Regions from separate parts of the Homo sapiens genome. Here region 1 is linked to region 2. The links are contacts of gene promoters, found by promoter capture Hi-C in human tissues and cell types (Jung and others, 2019). All regions are on one chromosome and are shown on one strand. The core of a region is centred on a gene start or on the middle of the fragment in contact, and the rest is flanking DNA. Distances in the headings are between cores, read along the strand shown.

Region 1 (6,100 bases), core at 573-3,072, 1.2 Mb before region 2:
TATTTCAACAGGGCAACCTTGAGGATTAACCAAACCTCTAATTTCATCTAGCCGTCATTAGATTTGAATTTCTTTTGCCGAAAGTGGAAAGGGAGTGGGGAGGCAGGGGTCCTCCTCTGGAGGGCAGTGGGTGGGGCTGTGGAGGGTTGCTGAGACCCCACCCCACCCCCAGGTATCATCCATGCCCGGGCCCTAGTCAGAGAGTGCCTGGCAGAGACAGAGCGGAACGCCCGCACGTAACAGGAAGCGCCTCGGCCTCAGCGTCTGGACCTATCCGGCCACTGCAGAGCACCCGCTTCTCCCTGGCCTTCATCCCGAGTTGCACTAACCATCCTGGGCTTCCTGTCCTGTGTCCCTTGGTGGGTCCCCTCCAGGAACCAAGGAGTGGCCCTCCAGGTGGCAGCACTAAGGACACCCCCCCACAACAAGAGTTAGCAGCGAGGTCCCCATGAGTCCCACCCATGACCTGCCGACAGTGTTGCCCACCGGAACTTTTGTGGCCCCTACCGCTCAGCCCTTCCCAGCACTTCTCCCACTTTGTCCCGAGCCTCCTTCTCCCCCAGCAGGGGCACAGGCCTGGCACCTCCCTGCCTTGTGTCCTGAGCCATAGTGACTCTTTTATCTGTGTGTCTTTTGCTAAATATGCCCTTTTTATATTAATAAAAGATGATTTGGAGTTGTGCTCTCAGCTCTGAGCCTTTCTGGGTCTGGTTCTTCAGCTAAGCCTGGGTGGGCCAGGCAGAGACAGGGGAAGAGGAGACTATGGATGGGGAGGGTGTGATTAAATGAGGTTTGACTTGCCTCTGTAGGCCATCAGCCTTTGGTGGGACCTGGGCCCTCTCCGCCCCAGCCGTGGCGCTGAGAGCCCTGGGCCTTCCTGTGGTGCCACCAGGGGGCAGCACAGGGCCTGGCTGCTTCCACAGCCCTTGGCGCTGTGGGCAGCCTGGGCCTGGAGGGCGCTTCCTCTGGATTGGCGGTGATGCCTGGCAGCATGGAAATGCCAGTTCACGTAAGCCACTCCCTCACACGCCCTAATGCCCTGACAACACCCCAGCCTCTGAATCAGCCCTGAAGGTCTCTGACTTCTCAGAGAGAAAGGGCACTGCTGCTTCCAGCACTTGGCCTCAGTGTCAAGGGGAGGGGCTGGCGGGGTGCTGCCGTCACTGCCCCAGCACCTTGTAGCAGGCTGGGTGGGATCCCATGAACCCAGCCTTGGGGTGCCTCGTGAGGCCTTTGCCCAGACTCCGGGTGGCTGGGTGACCGGACTTGTGGACCCGGAAGGCAGAGGTGGGGGAGGCTTTGTGGCACCATGCAGGGGCTAGCCCAGCCACTCACAGTGACAGCCCGTTTCTGCCTGGGCGTGTAGCTGGGTGACCATAGAGGCCTGGGGCCCTGGAGCCGAGCCCAGCCCTAGGTGGAGGCATGTCAGAGCCACCAGCTTCTGGCTAGACTGGTGGGGAGGCATTTCCTCAACCCTGGGTCCCAAATCTAAGGACTGCAGAGAGTGAGAAGAGGAGAGTGGGCCTGGGACCCCCCATATCAAACCACCCTGTGACTGCACACAGGAGGGCTGGGCTAGGGTGGAGATAGGAACTAAGAGTCTTTGGGGACCCCAATCAGCACAGAGGGACTAGGAAGAGCCAGAATTTAGGCAATGGCCTTTTTCCCACTGCCCGGGGGAAGGAAGGCAGGGGCCTCCCTCCCTGCCTCCTCCGCTGCAGGCGGGGCTGCCCGGACCCCGCCGGGGTGGGGAGGGCCAGCCGGGCCCAGGAAGGGGGCGGGGCGGCCGCAGTGACGCGGCGGGCGTCGGGGAGGGACTGCAGGGGCGCCGGCGGGCGGATCGAGAGGAAGGTCGGGGCCATGGGCCGGCACTGCGCCTCGGGAGGGTCCGGCCACCGCTGGAACCCGAGGCCGGGGCTGGGGGCGCTCCGGGCTCCGACCCACGGGCCGGCCGGCCCTGCCCGGGCTGGGTGAGGGGCGCCCGCCTCAAGCTAGAGGTGAGCCGGGGCGTCGGCAGGCGGGCCAAGAGCGCGGCAGGGGACCGGGACGCCGGCGAGCAGAGGGAAGTGGGGACAACGGGGCCTCTCGCTTGCTCGCGGGGTGCGAGTGGGGGATGGAGGGGTGCCTGCAGCGGAACCTCGGTGCCAGTCTGGGGCGCAGGTGGACGGAGCGGGTCTCCAGGGCCATGGCCCGTGGGATACCAAGTGGAGCCACTCTGGCCTCAGCCTGAGGAGGGCTCACCCCCTGGGAAGAGGACGGAGTGGCTGCCTAGGCGCGTGGAGAGCCGGCGAGGGCCAGGGGTCCAGGAAGGATGCTGGGAGGGGGAGGTCGAGGACCCGGCTGCCCAAGAAGGCAGATCTGGAGGGCGGAGGAGATTACCGGTCCCGGAAGGTAGGTTCGGGTGCAGGGCGTGGGGAACCCTGGCAGAGATGCTGGGCGCACTGGGCCACTCCGCGCAGAGACACTCGGGGAACAAAGCTCTAGGTGGACGTCCGAGAGTGGGGGACTTGGGACCCCGCCGACTCCGGGAAGGGGATGCAAGGGGCGGGTCCCCGAGGGGCCGGTCGCGGAAGGCGGGCCCGGAAGGAGGGGCCCCGGGGCTTCGGGGGCGCGCCCAGAGGGATGCCGTTTCCCGGGGTTAGGACGCGGTCGCAGCGGGAGAGGTGAGGTGGCCCTCCCGCCCGCCGGCCGGAGCCTGGCGCTCCGGGGGGCCCGCGTCAGCGCGCGGTTGCCATGGCGACGGGCGGGCGGGGGGCGGGGGCTGCGCGGAAAAGAGGTCAGCGCTCAGCCTCGCTGCGGCTCCCGGCCCCGGCGGCGCGGGCGGCGGTGCTAGGCTCGCCTCTGCCTCCCTCGTGGCGGGCCCGGACATGGGGTCCCGTGGCCTGAGTCCCTCGGCCGGCGCGCAGGGCTCGGGGCCGCGCGCAGCCTCCCCGCACTGACTGTCGCGCCGTGCCCTGCGCCAGGAGGAGCGGAGGCCGCGCGCGGCCCGCCGAGCGCCTTCAGGATGCTCATCAAGGAATACCACATTCTGCTGCCCATGAGCCTGGACGAGTACCAGGTGGCCCAGCTCTACATGATCCAGGTGAGGGCGGCGGGGAGAGGGCACCCGGGCAAGGGGTGGAGCCCTGCCGACCCCGCCAGCCCTGCCCCGGGGCTGGGACCGGCTGGGAGCCCGGAGGAGGCAAGAGAGGCCCCCCTTCAGATGTGGGAATGGGGAAGGACTGTGGGAAGAGGGGCAGGAGGGCCGAGTGGTGCTTCCCATCCGCTAAGTGCCCAGCCCTCCTCTGATCTCCTGTAATCCTCCTCAGGATCTGTAATCCCATCGGGGAAGGAAAAAGCGCCCAGGAGGCGGCAAGAATGAGGAGGGGGGCCTCCGCGGCAGAGGAAGGCGGGAGGGGGTCTGGAGAAGTGGAGGGTCCTGGCCATCCCTGGAGGTCAGGGAGATGTGGTGAGGACCAGGTGTCAAACCTGGAGCAGGGACAGGGCAGCAAGGATGGGAGGGCGAGGAGGCTCTGGTGTAGGGCAGTGAGAAGAGTGGGCCAGGGCAGGCCCTCAGCAGTGGCCGGGTTGGTGCGGGGCCTGGGGGAGTCTGCTCCAGATCTGTCCCCAGCACAGCAGGACCAGAATCTCATAAAGCAAGAGGGCCCGGACCCCGCCTCGGGCTTGAAAGGGCCATCTGAGCCCCGGAGCAATAGAAGGCAGGATCTGGGGGCTCTCAAGCTCTGAGGGGTGTGGCGGAGCTGGGATTGGGAGGCGGCCAGGGCCTCCCAGAGAGGGAGGGGGCCAGGGTCAGGGCCTCTGAGAGCTGGAGGCCCCTTTTCCTCTCCTAGTCCCTTCTTCCTTGCCAGCCACCCCGGCCTCCTTGCCACCTGCCAGCACATCCAGTATGCTCCCACCTTGGGGCTGCACTGGCTTCCCCCGGCCTTGAGCACCTCCTCCTACCTCACCTCCTTAAAGTCATGTTCAAGCCATGGTCACATTGTGTTATTAGCAAGGCCTTCCCTGACTATCAGATCAAAACTGCAGCCCCCAACCCTCATCACCTATACCCTACTCTAGGCTTTCTTTTCCTATAGCACCTAGCGCCTTCTAACACACCACATAATTTGCTTTTTCCTTTTGTCTGTCTCCTTCCACTAGAATGTAAGTTCCACGAGGGCAGGGATCTTTGTTCTATTCATCAATATATCTCAATTGATATAATCCCAAACACTGCCTGGAGTGGAGCAGACACTCAATGAATACTTGAATGACTCAACTGAGTGCTGGGTTGCAGACCCCATGCGGGGCTGGGCTGCATCTGTGATTCTGATCCCAGGGAGCTTTGGTGGGGCGGGGTCTGGTTTCAGGGAGTTGAAAAGGCTGGGACCAGGGCCCCAGAGCTGTGTAGAACACCAGGCTGAGCTGGGGATCCCAGATGCTAAGCTGGGGCTGAGCTCCCTGTCCTGCTCTCCCTTGGGCCACAGAAAAAGAGCCGGGAGGAGTCTAGTGGTGAGGGCAGCGGCGTGGAGATCCTGGCCAACCGGCCCTACACGGATGGGCCCGGGGGCAGCGGGCAATACACACACAAGGTGTACCACGTGGGCTCCCACATCCCAGGCTGGTTCCGGGCACTGCTGCCCAAGGCTGCCCTGCAGGTAGAAGAGGAATCCTGGAATGCCTACCCCTACACCCGAACCCGGTGAGTGGGTGAGCTGGGCATGGTCCGAGGCCAGGAGGGGAGCGGCCCTGGTGGGTACAGCAGTGAGCCTCACCCGTGCCTTCTGCCCAGGTACACCTGCCCTTTCGTGGAGAAATTCTCCATTGAAATTGAGACCTATTACCTGCCTGATGGGGGGCAGCAGCCAAACGTCTTCAACCTGAGCGGGGCCGAGAGGAGACAGCGCATCCTGGGTGAGGCCTGGAGCTATGGGGGGACCCTGGCGCCCCTCTCAGGCTCCTGGCTGCCTCAGTGGGCAGCCTCTGAGAAGTCCCAGCCCTCTCCAGGCCTCATGTCCTGTCTGCAAAAGGACGGGAACTGTCATCCAGTCCCAAGAGGGTGCCAGGAGCGGGGGCTCAAAGGGGCTGGCGCTGCTCAATGCTTGCCGAACTCCCTCAGACACCATCGACATCGTGCGGGATGCAGTGGCCCCAGGCGAGTACAAAGCAGAAGAGGACCCCCGGCTTTATCACTCGGTCAAGACGGGCCGAGGGCCACTGTCTGATGACTGGGCACGGACGGCGGCACAGACGGGGCCCCTTATGTGTGCCTATAAGCTGTGCAAGGTTGAGTTCCGCTACTGGGGCATGCAAGCCAAGATCGAGCAGTTCATCCATGATGTAGGTGAGCACCCAGCTGCGGGAGGTCCCACTTACCCAGCATGCCCCAGACCCCATGTTTAGGGCCAGGGATGCTCCCATCCACTGGGGACACAGAAGCAGAAAGCCATCGTTTCCATTTGAGGTGGGGAGCACTAGGGCAGAAGCGGCCGCACAGCCTAGCCAGGCATCCACAGAGCAGGAAGCTGGTAACATGATCTACAAGGTCCATACTGGCTCTGACATTCAGAAATGCTGCTGCTTCCATTAAGATTCTAAGATTCTCCATCATCCTATGAGTTAGATGAGACTTAGAGACACTCAGGAAGGTCACCGGCTCTAACTGGCAGCATGCTAAGGAGTGCAGGCTGAGGCTGTGACTCTGATGTCATTCTCTCTGGGATTCCCCACCTCCACTCCCAGTTTCTAGTGTTCCAGCCTTTGGCCCTGGTGTTCAGGAGCCCCAGTCCCACACCTCCCCTCAACCTGACCCCACCACGCCTACAATTCAGCCCTGCCTCAGTGCCCAGGTCATCTGCACACAGAGGGATGGTCCCTAGTTGGAGAGACCAGCGGCCTGGCTTCTGTCCCACTACTGACCCCCACCCCATGGTACCTCCAGCAAGGCACTGGCCATCTCTGCACTTTAAATTTCTCTTCAGTAAATGAGGAAGAGGTTGAGTCAGATATGAAGAGCTAATACTGACAGTGATTGCGACACACAGACCCATGGCTAATTACTTTTTGTGCAAGATCTCCCTTAACACCCACAACACCCCACCAGGTAATGACGATGATTATT
Region 2 (6,635 bases), core at 4,136-6,635:
ATGAGCCAGTGAGCCTAGCCCTGCACACACACAGCCACCCAGATGCCCACCTGGTCACACCCTGGGCTGCCCTCAGTCCTCAGGGGCAAAAGGCAGGAACTTGGGATTGGAAGCGTGATGCTGGGACATCCCTTCCCTGAGTTCTGACTGCTGTGGGCAAGGCCTCACCTGTACAGGTAATAGAAGAAGGAGAGCAGGTAGAAGGCAAGTTTGCACCAGGACTCCTTCTGGCAGTAGTTGAGAATGTCAGCATTCATGATGGAGACCGCATCATACATGACCTCAGAGCCATCTGCAGGACGGTGGAAGTACCTGGGGCAGACAGGGGCCTGAGTGTCTGCCATCAGGACTCCCACCCCCATCCTGCCCCTGTTCCCCATCTCAGCCTCCCCAAGGCAGCTGCTACCCTCACCTCCAGAGGTGGTAGAAGAGGAGGGGGATGTTGAGGCCCAGGGTCACCCACTCTGCTGCACACAGAAACATCAGACAGAAGAGGCCGTGGATGGAGTATTCTGGGACCACCAGCTGGGGGAGTGAGGGTGAGAGGTCAGCGGCCTGGTGCTATGACAGACCAGCCTTCAAGGGGACAGAGAGGAGCTGGGGTTTGGGAGGTGCCCACCCACCGTGACCTCTGGGGATTAAAAGGCCTCTGGCTTCCCACTCCCTCCCAAGTAGAGTGGATCAAACAGGCCCAAAGCAGGGGAAGGCCTGGTTCTGGGCCACAGACAGTGGGGGCAGCGCTGGGCTAGGAGCCTCCTGCCCCCAGCCCTGACACTGACCTTCCTCAGGAGGCAGCAGATGCGTTCGATGTTTTTTAAACGCTCGCGCTGTTGGGGGAAGGAAAAGGCCGCGATGGGGTGGCGGAGAAGCAGGTACTGGAGCAGCTCCCACCGCTCCACATGTGGCCGCCAGGGGGCGCCAGAGCGATCTCTGCGGCACTGTCGGCACGGCCGGGAAGCAGCCGCGCCGTCCCCATGGCGACCGTCACCATGGAAGGGCCTTCACCCGCGTCTCCATGGCAACGGCCCAGAGCCTGGCAACCACCGCCCCGCCAAGAGGAACTCAGCCCTGAGCCCGCGCCAGGTGTTTGCTGGGGGCGGAGACAGAGAGGAAGGGGGCATGGCCGTAGGCCCCCCACCCCACCCCCGTCTTCCCGTCTCCCACCCCCAGCCCACGACAGATGGAAAGACAGACGGACGGACACACCTCGGCACAGCACATGTATCACTTACTGCCCGCGCAGGGTTCCCCTGGTCGATGGGGTTCTTGAAGTCGGTCCGCAGCTCATCAAAGGCTATGATCTGGGGGAGGGGCGTGTGCCCGTCAGGGTTGGGGCAGCAGCTTATGGCCTTCCCCCAAGTCCTTCTGTGGGATAGTTTACTGAAGAGGACCAGCCAGGTGGAGCTTGTTGCAAAGGTGGAGAAACCGAGGTCCAGGGAGGAGCAGGGCCTGGTCCAAGGTCATTACAACAGTCCAGAAGGGAACCCTAGCGTCTGGATGCCCAGTTCAGGCCCATGTCCACTACACCCCCTTCCAAAACATCCCAAGACATGGCTTCGTGTCTGCCCTGCCAAGTCTCAGGCCCTGTGCTGAGCACTGGGGCTCCAGAGGCCTGGGATGCAGCCCCTGCCCAGGAGGAACCCAGGCCCAGAGGGATGATCACTCTGCCTTCCAGGTGATCAGGGTTTGGGGTACAGGGAGGACCTGGAGTGGGCGCTTAACCCTGTGTGGGGGGTGAGGGAGTTCAGGCTGGACTCGGAGTAGGTGTTGGTGAGCAAATGGGGGAAATGCAGTCCAAGCAGTAGAAGGTGCAATGGCAGAGGGGTGAAAGGTCAGGAGACATTCAGGAGGCTGCGGGTTTCATGGGGCTGGCGTGACAGCGCAGCGAGCAGGAAGAAAAGAGAGAGTGGTGGAAGAGGAGCTGGAGAATTCAGCAGAGCCAGACATGGGCGCCCTGTGAGGCCAGAGCAGGAGTTTGGACTTACTTTAACACAAAAATTTTGGGGGGAGGCATTGAAGAGTACACAGCAGCAGAGTGGGGTGGTCAGGTCCATGTCTTAGGATTGGTCCATGTCTCAGGATTGGTGGGGCAGGAAATCCGAGCTCACTGACAGTCACAGCTGAGATCTAAGTGGTGCTTCTCCTGGCCGGTATGTGGATTCACTCATTTAATTCTTAACAACCTTATGACTTAGGTACTAGTTTTATTTTCATGTCTGTTTTGCAGATGAGGAAGCTGAGGCAGGTTAAGTGACTTGTCCAGGGCCACACGGCTGGTTAGTGGATTCTAACCCAGTGTGACTCCAGAGTTAAAATTCCTAACCACTGTGTCATACTCAGGCCAGACCAGCAAGGGGACGGTTTGGAGGGTTAGGGGCAGGGCTGATGGTGGTCTGAGTGAGGAGAGTTGTAGTGGAGACGGAAGGCGTGCATGGGATTCTACAGCTCTTTAGGAGCCAGACTCCAGAGGGTTCAAATGGCTGAGAAGTGAAGGCAGAAATCTAAGGTGGCTTCAGGTGTTGGGGTGTCTGGCAGACGGCAGTGTCCTCACGGGTGGAAACTCTCCAGGGGAGCAAGTGTTTGAGGGGATGATGGGATGGGAAGGAGCTGACAGGTGACTTGGGGGAAATGGGCTGGCAGAGGAGCCTGCTGGGGTCCCCTCCTGTCGGCTCCAGCCCTAGGATGAGGCAGCAGGCCCACCACCCCCAGGCATCCCAGGCCCCAGACGGCTCAGAGAGAAAGAACATGGGCTTCCTGGAGGGAGCTGAGGCCATCTGGATCATCCCCCCTCCCCGCCCAGCTCCCCATTGACTCTGGGCAGCGCCACTTGGCACGCACAGCAACAGGGTCCACAGGGAGCAGAAGGGTGCCGTCTGTACCCCAGAGCTGGCACCACCAGCAGGCGGCGGGCGTCACCCCTCCCACCCCCCAGGCTGCCTGGCGCTGACTCAGCCCCCCGGAACAAACAATCCCCCATGGTGACAGCTGACACGCGTCACTCACCGCCAGGGTTGCCTAGGAACCACTGGGGCCTGGGCTGAGGGTCTGGAGTGGGATCTGGGGTCCCGCCCTGTTAAGAGTCTAGTTCTTAGCAGCTGTGGACTGAGGACCACGCCTCCTATCCCCTACCACCCAGCAGGCCGCACTAGGCACTCTGATGTGCACAGGTCCACTTTGCCGGCGAGGAACCAGACTTGGGACAAATGACTTGCTAAGATTGTCCAGCTAAATGGCTGAGTGGACAGAGTACCTCACACAGGTGCTCAATCAATATCTGTTGAATGAACAAAGACATTTCTTCAAAGCTTGGGCCTTTCCTCCCAGCCTGGGCACTCCACAAGGGCAAAGTCTGGGTTTTATTCATCCTTGACCCCCTCAAAGCCACCCAGAGCCTGATCTTTGGGAAGCATCAATGCAGGCGTGGTGGATAAACTGCTGAGGATCCCCTGAGGACAGGGACCCCACAGGGGCTGTGGGAAGGCCCTGGGTGGGGAAGGCCCCAAAAAGAGGCTTCTTGAATTCCAGGAGCCCTTCTCCCAGGAGCTGGTCAGCTCTGCATTCCCTAGCCTGTGGCCCCCAGCTCCCTCCAGTCCTTAGAACCCTAGCCCTCCTGCCCCTACCCCACAGAAAGAAAAATAGAGTAACTCGGGGTGCGGGGGAGAGGGGGAAAGACAAAGCAACCAAGACCCAGAGAGAGAGCAGAGCCAGGCCAAGGAGTGACAGGGCTGGAGCTGGGGTGTGTGCTGAGGTGCCTTTGGGGGCTCACTCTTCACACAGTAGGGGTTCAGTCTATGGATTCCCGATGTCAAAGAGCAAGGTGGCAGGGGATGGCAAAGGGAGCGCAGGGGGAACCATGGAGCAGGCGGCAGGTCCCAGGAAGAGAAAGGAGAGAGGAAGTGGAGAGCCCGGGAAAGAAGCAGGTGAGGCACCGGGAGGAAGGAGGGAAGGGCTATGGGAAATGGGATTGAGGGAGGGATAAGAGGACCCCTGAAAGGGAATGACAATCAGGGAGGTGTGCGCGGGAGGTGTGAGCAGAGGATGCTGAGCTGAGCCAGCCAGGGCCGAGCTGGGCAGGCTGTTACAGAAACAGGCACGGGGTTTGGGTGGGGGTGGGGACGGAGGGCAGTAAAGTGGGGCCAGGGGCCCCCAACAACCAGCTGGAGGCTGATTGATAGTTCTGTAGTGAGGGGACGGGAGCCAGGCAGAGGAGGCCCTGGAGGAGAGGAGCGGGAGGGGAGGAGGAGGGAGCCTGGGGGAAGCGATGGGTCGGATGCAGGATGAGGAATGGACATTTTGAAGAACCAGGTGTGAGGCTAGGCCAGGGCGAGGGACAGACCAAGGGGTATGTGAGAGACAAAGGGGAAGGGGGACAGGAAGAGGAGGGAAGCTGGAAAATGGAGAGGAAACCTGGGGGGCTGGGAAGCCCCCAACAGGAGGGGTAGGGAAACCCAAGGTGAGCCGGTGGTGGGGGCTAGGTCTCTGGGGGCTGATGAGAGCCAACTGCTGCTTGGTCAGGGAGGGGGCTGGGAAGGCAAAGGGTTAATGGACTCTGAGATCTGTGGGTCCTGTAAACAGATGCAGTTGCCATAGCAACCAGCTCCATCACTCTGGCTGGAAAAACCCACAAAGGCGGGGGGGGGGGGGCAGCAGACAGACAAACTGCCCGACGGACTAATGGAGGCGGCTGGATGGTGGTGGGGGGGGACATAGAAGATAAAGCAACAAAAATGCCAGAATTCCACCCCCCACCTCACGGGCTGCATGGGAGCAGAGGACGAGGGCAGAGGAGGGGGTCAGAGACCGACTGACATACACACAGACAGGCGGGGGCGGCGGAGGAAGGGGGGCCCCGGGAAGAAAGCCGACCACGGGGGGTGTTAATGGGGGCGAAGCCGACAAGCCGACGGCTGGGGGATAGCAAGTTTCCCCTGGGCTCTGAGACCACCCGCCCTGGGTCCCTCCAGCTCCGCGTGGCCCCTGCCCCCCACCCCGCCCCCAGCCCCAGCCCCAGCCCGGCCTTACGTGCCAGATGACAAAGAAGATGAGGGAGGCGCACAGCACCAGGGTGAGCATGTAGCAGAACGCGGCGAAGGTGAACGCCATGGCCCCCGCGCCGGGCGGCGGCCCGGGGGGCGCCAGCGCGGGGCCCGGGCGCAAGGGGACGCCCCCCGGCCCGCGCTTAGGGCCGGCCGGGCATGGCCCGTGGGGCTCGGGGGACGTGGGTGATGCGGCCGGGACCGGGACCGCGGGGCCGTGGGGGGCGCGGGGCGCGGGCCGGTGGGCTCGGGGGGCGCGTCCGCTGCCGGCTGCCCGGGCCCCGATCGCTCATCCTGCGATCCCTCGCCCGCGGCTCCCTCGCTCTCCAGCCCGCGAAGCCGGCGGGGCGGAGCCGGGGGCGGGGCCGCCGCGCGAGCGGCCTCGGGCGGGGCTGGGTCTCCGCGGGCCCCTCGTCTGCCCGCCCGGCTCGGGCGCCACCCCCAGCCCCGACAAGCCCGCGGCCGTTCACCCTCCGGACAGCGTAGACGCGGCCGCCCCCGGCACCCCGCACCCCTCGGCACTCCAGCCACCGGCACAGCCGCACTCGGCCCCCTCGGGCGGGCGCTCAGGGCAAAGGCTGAAGTGCGAGGCACTTGTCACTGTCGGAGACGGCAGAAGCACCTGGCTGGGACACACAATGACGCCAGGACAGGGGCTGAATGGGAGCAGTGGGGTTTTGGGGGGCGCTGAAGGAGGTTGGGCCAGGTGCAGTGGGGGCCCTCTCAGCGGCTGCGCGACCCCACACCTCTGCCGTGTGCCCCGCGGGAGTTGGCGGCGGCACGCCAGGTATGAGCTGATGGCCGCCTGCCTCTTTCCCTGACAGAACGGTGCTGGGCCCTTGGGGACAGACCACAGAAGCACAAGCAGCTTTCCTGGCCTCAGGAAACGGGGTCAAGGGCTTTTGCCAGCAGCCTTAGGACACAGAAACCAAGCCAGGACCCCCGTGCACCCCACCAAGCCCAGGGTTCCAGTTCCATCCCCCCACCCCAAGGCTGGGCTTAGACCACAGACCACACTTGGCCACCACAACTTCCTTGCAAAAACCCTCAGCTCACCCGAGGGCCAATGGAAATTTATTAATTTTTTTTGTCCTTTTCCATCTTTCCCCAAGTGGCTTTTCCTTGCAAAATGCCTGACATGACACCAGAGGGGAACCTGGGAGCGGGGGGCACCCCAAGGGGGCAGCCCAGGGACTTAAATACAAGCTGGAGGGCAGGGCACAGGTGGGACAGGCAAGAGACAGCACGAGGGACATGGCTTCTCAGGGAGACCAAAGACTTGCTTTCTTGCAGGAAGCAGCTGTGCCAGAGGGCAGGGGACTAGGATCCTGGGTGCAGAGTGGGTGAGCAGAGAGGCCCCCAATCCTGGATGGAACCCACATTCCCCAGAGAAGTAGCGGCAGGGGATGAGGGCCTTCCCTGGTGGGCTCCAGAGACGGAGTGGGGAGTGAGCCAGATGTGCTACCTTGGGGAAAGGGAGGAGGTGCTAGCAGAGTGAGGGTTAAGGCTGGTGCCCAGCCTCTGGCACGGTGGGCCTTCCGCCTCCGCCTGACATGGGGACAAAGGGGCACGGTGGGCAGGCAGCGCATGGGTCTGTCT

Evidence for each region. Contacts are between HindIII fragments. The study calls those that stand out against the background at their distance.
Region 1: a contact is called between the fragment with the promoter of PITPNM1 here and the fragment with the promoter of CNIH2 in region 2, in 1 of the 25 tissues and cell types used here (heart left ventricle).

What each region holds. Positions count from the first base shown.
Region 1 is chr11:67,501,085-67,507,184 of GRCh38, reverse strand. PITPNM1 (phosphatidylinositol transfer protein membrane associated 1) reads left to right here and starts at 1,822. Exons shown (of 24, transcript NM_004910.3): 1 at 1,822-1,997; 2 at 2,964-3,082; 3 at 4,467-4,681; 4 at 4,772-4,893; 5 at 5,099-5,323. The coding sequence starts at 3,005. CDK2AP2 (cyclin dependent kinase 2 associated protein 2) reads left to right here. Exons shown (of 4, transcript NM_005851.5): 4 at 173-688. The coding sequence ends at 240. RefSeq lists silencers at 1,526-2,155, 2,366-2,525, 2,536-2,655, 2,736-2,835 and enhancers at 2,614-3,363, 3,364-4,113. The HindIII fragment of the contact is 15,242 bases long and covers 1-6,100 here.
Region 2 is chr11:66,276,925-66,283,559 of GRCh38, reverse strand. CNIH2 (cornichon family AMPA receptor auxiliary protein 2) reads right to left here and starts at 5,385. Exons shown (of 6, transcript NM_182553.3): 1 at 5,023-5,385; 2 at 1,233-1,301; 3 at 780-827; 4 at 413-525; 5 at 169-312. The coding sequence starts at 5,103. It overlaps RAB1B (RAB1B, member RAS oncogene family), which reads right to left. Exons shown (of 6, transcript NM_030981.3): 6 at 6,068-6,635. It overlaps LOC107984340 (a long non-coding RNA gene), which reads left to right and starts at 5,035. Exons shown (of 2, transcript XR_001748274.1): 1 at 5,035-5,065. RefSeq lists an enhancer at 611-1,114 and a silencer at 5,280-5,609. The HindIII fragment of the contact is 9,186 bases long and covers 1,316-6,635 here.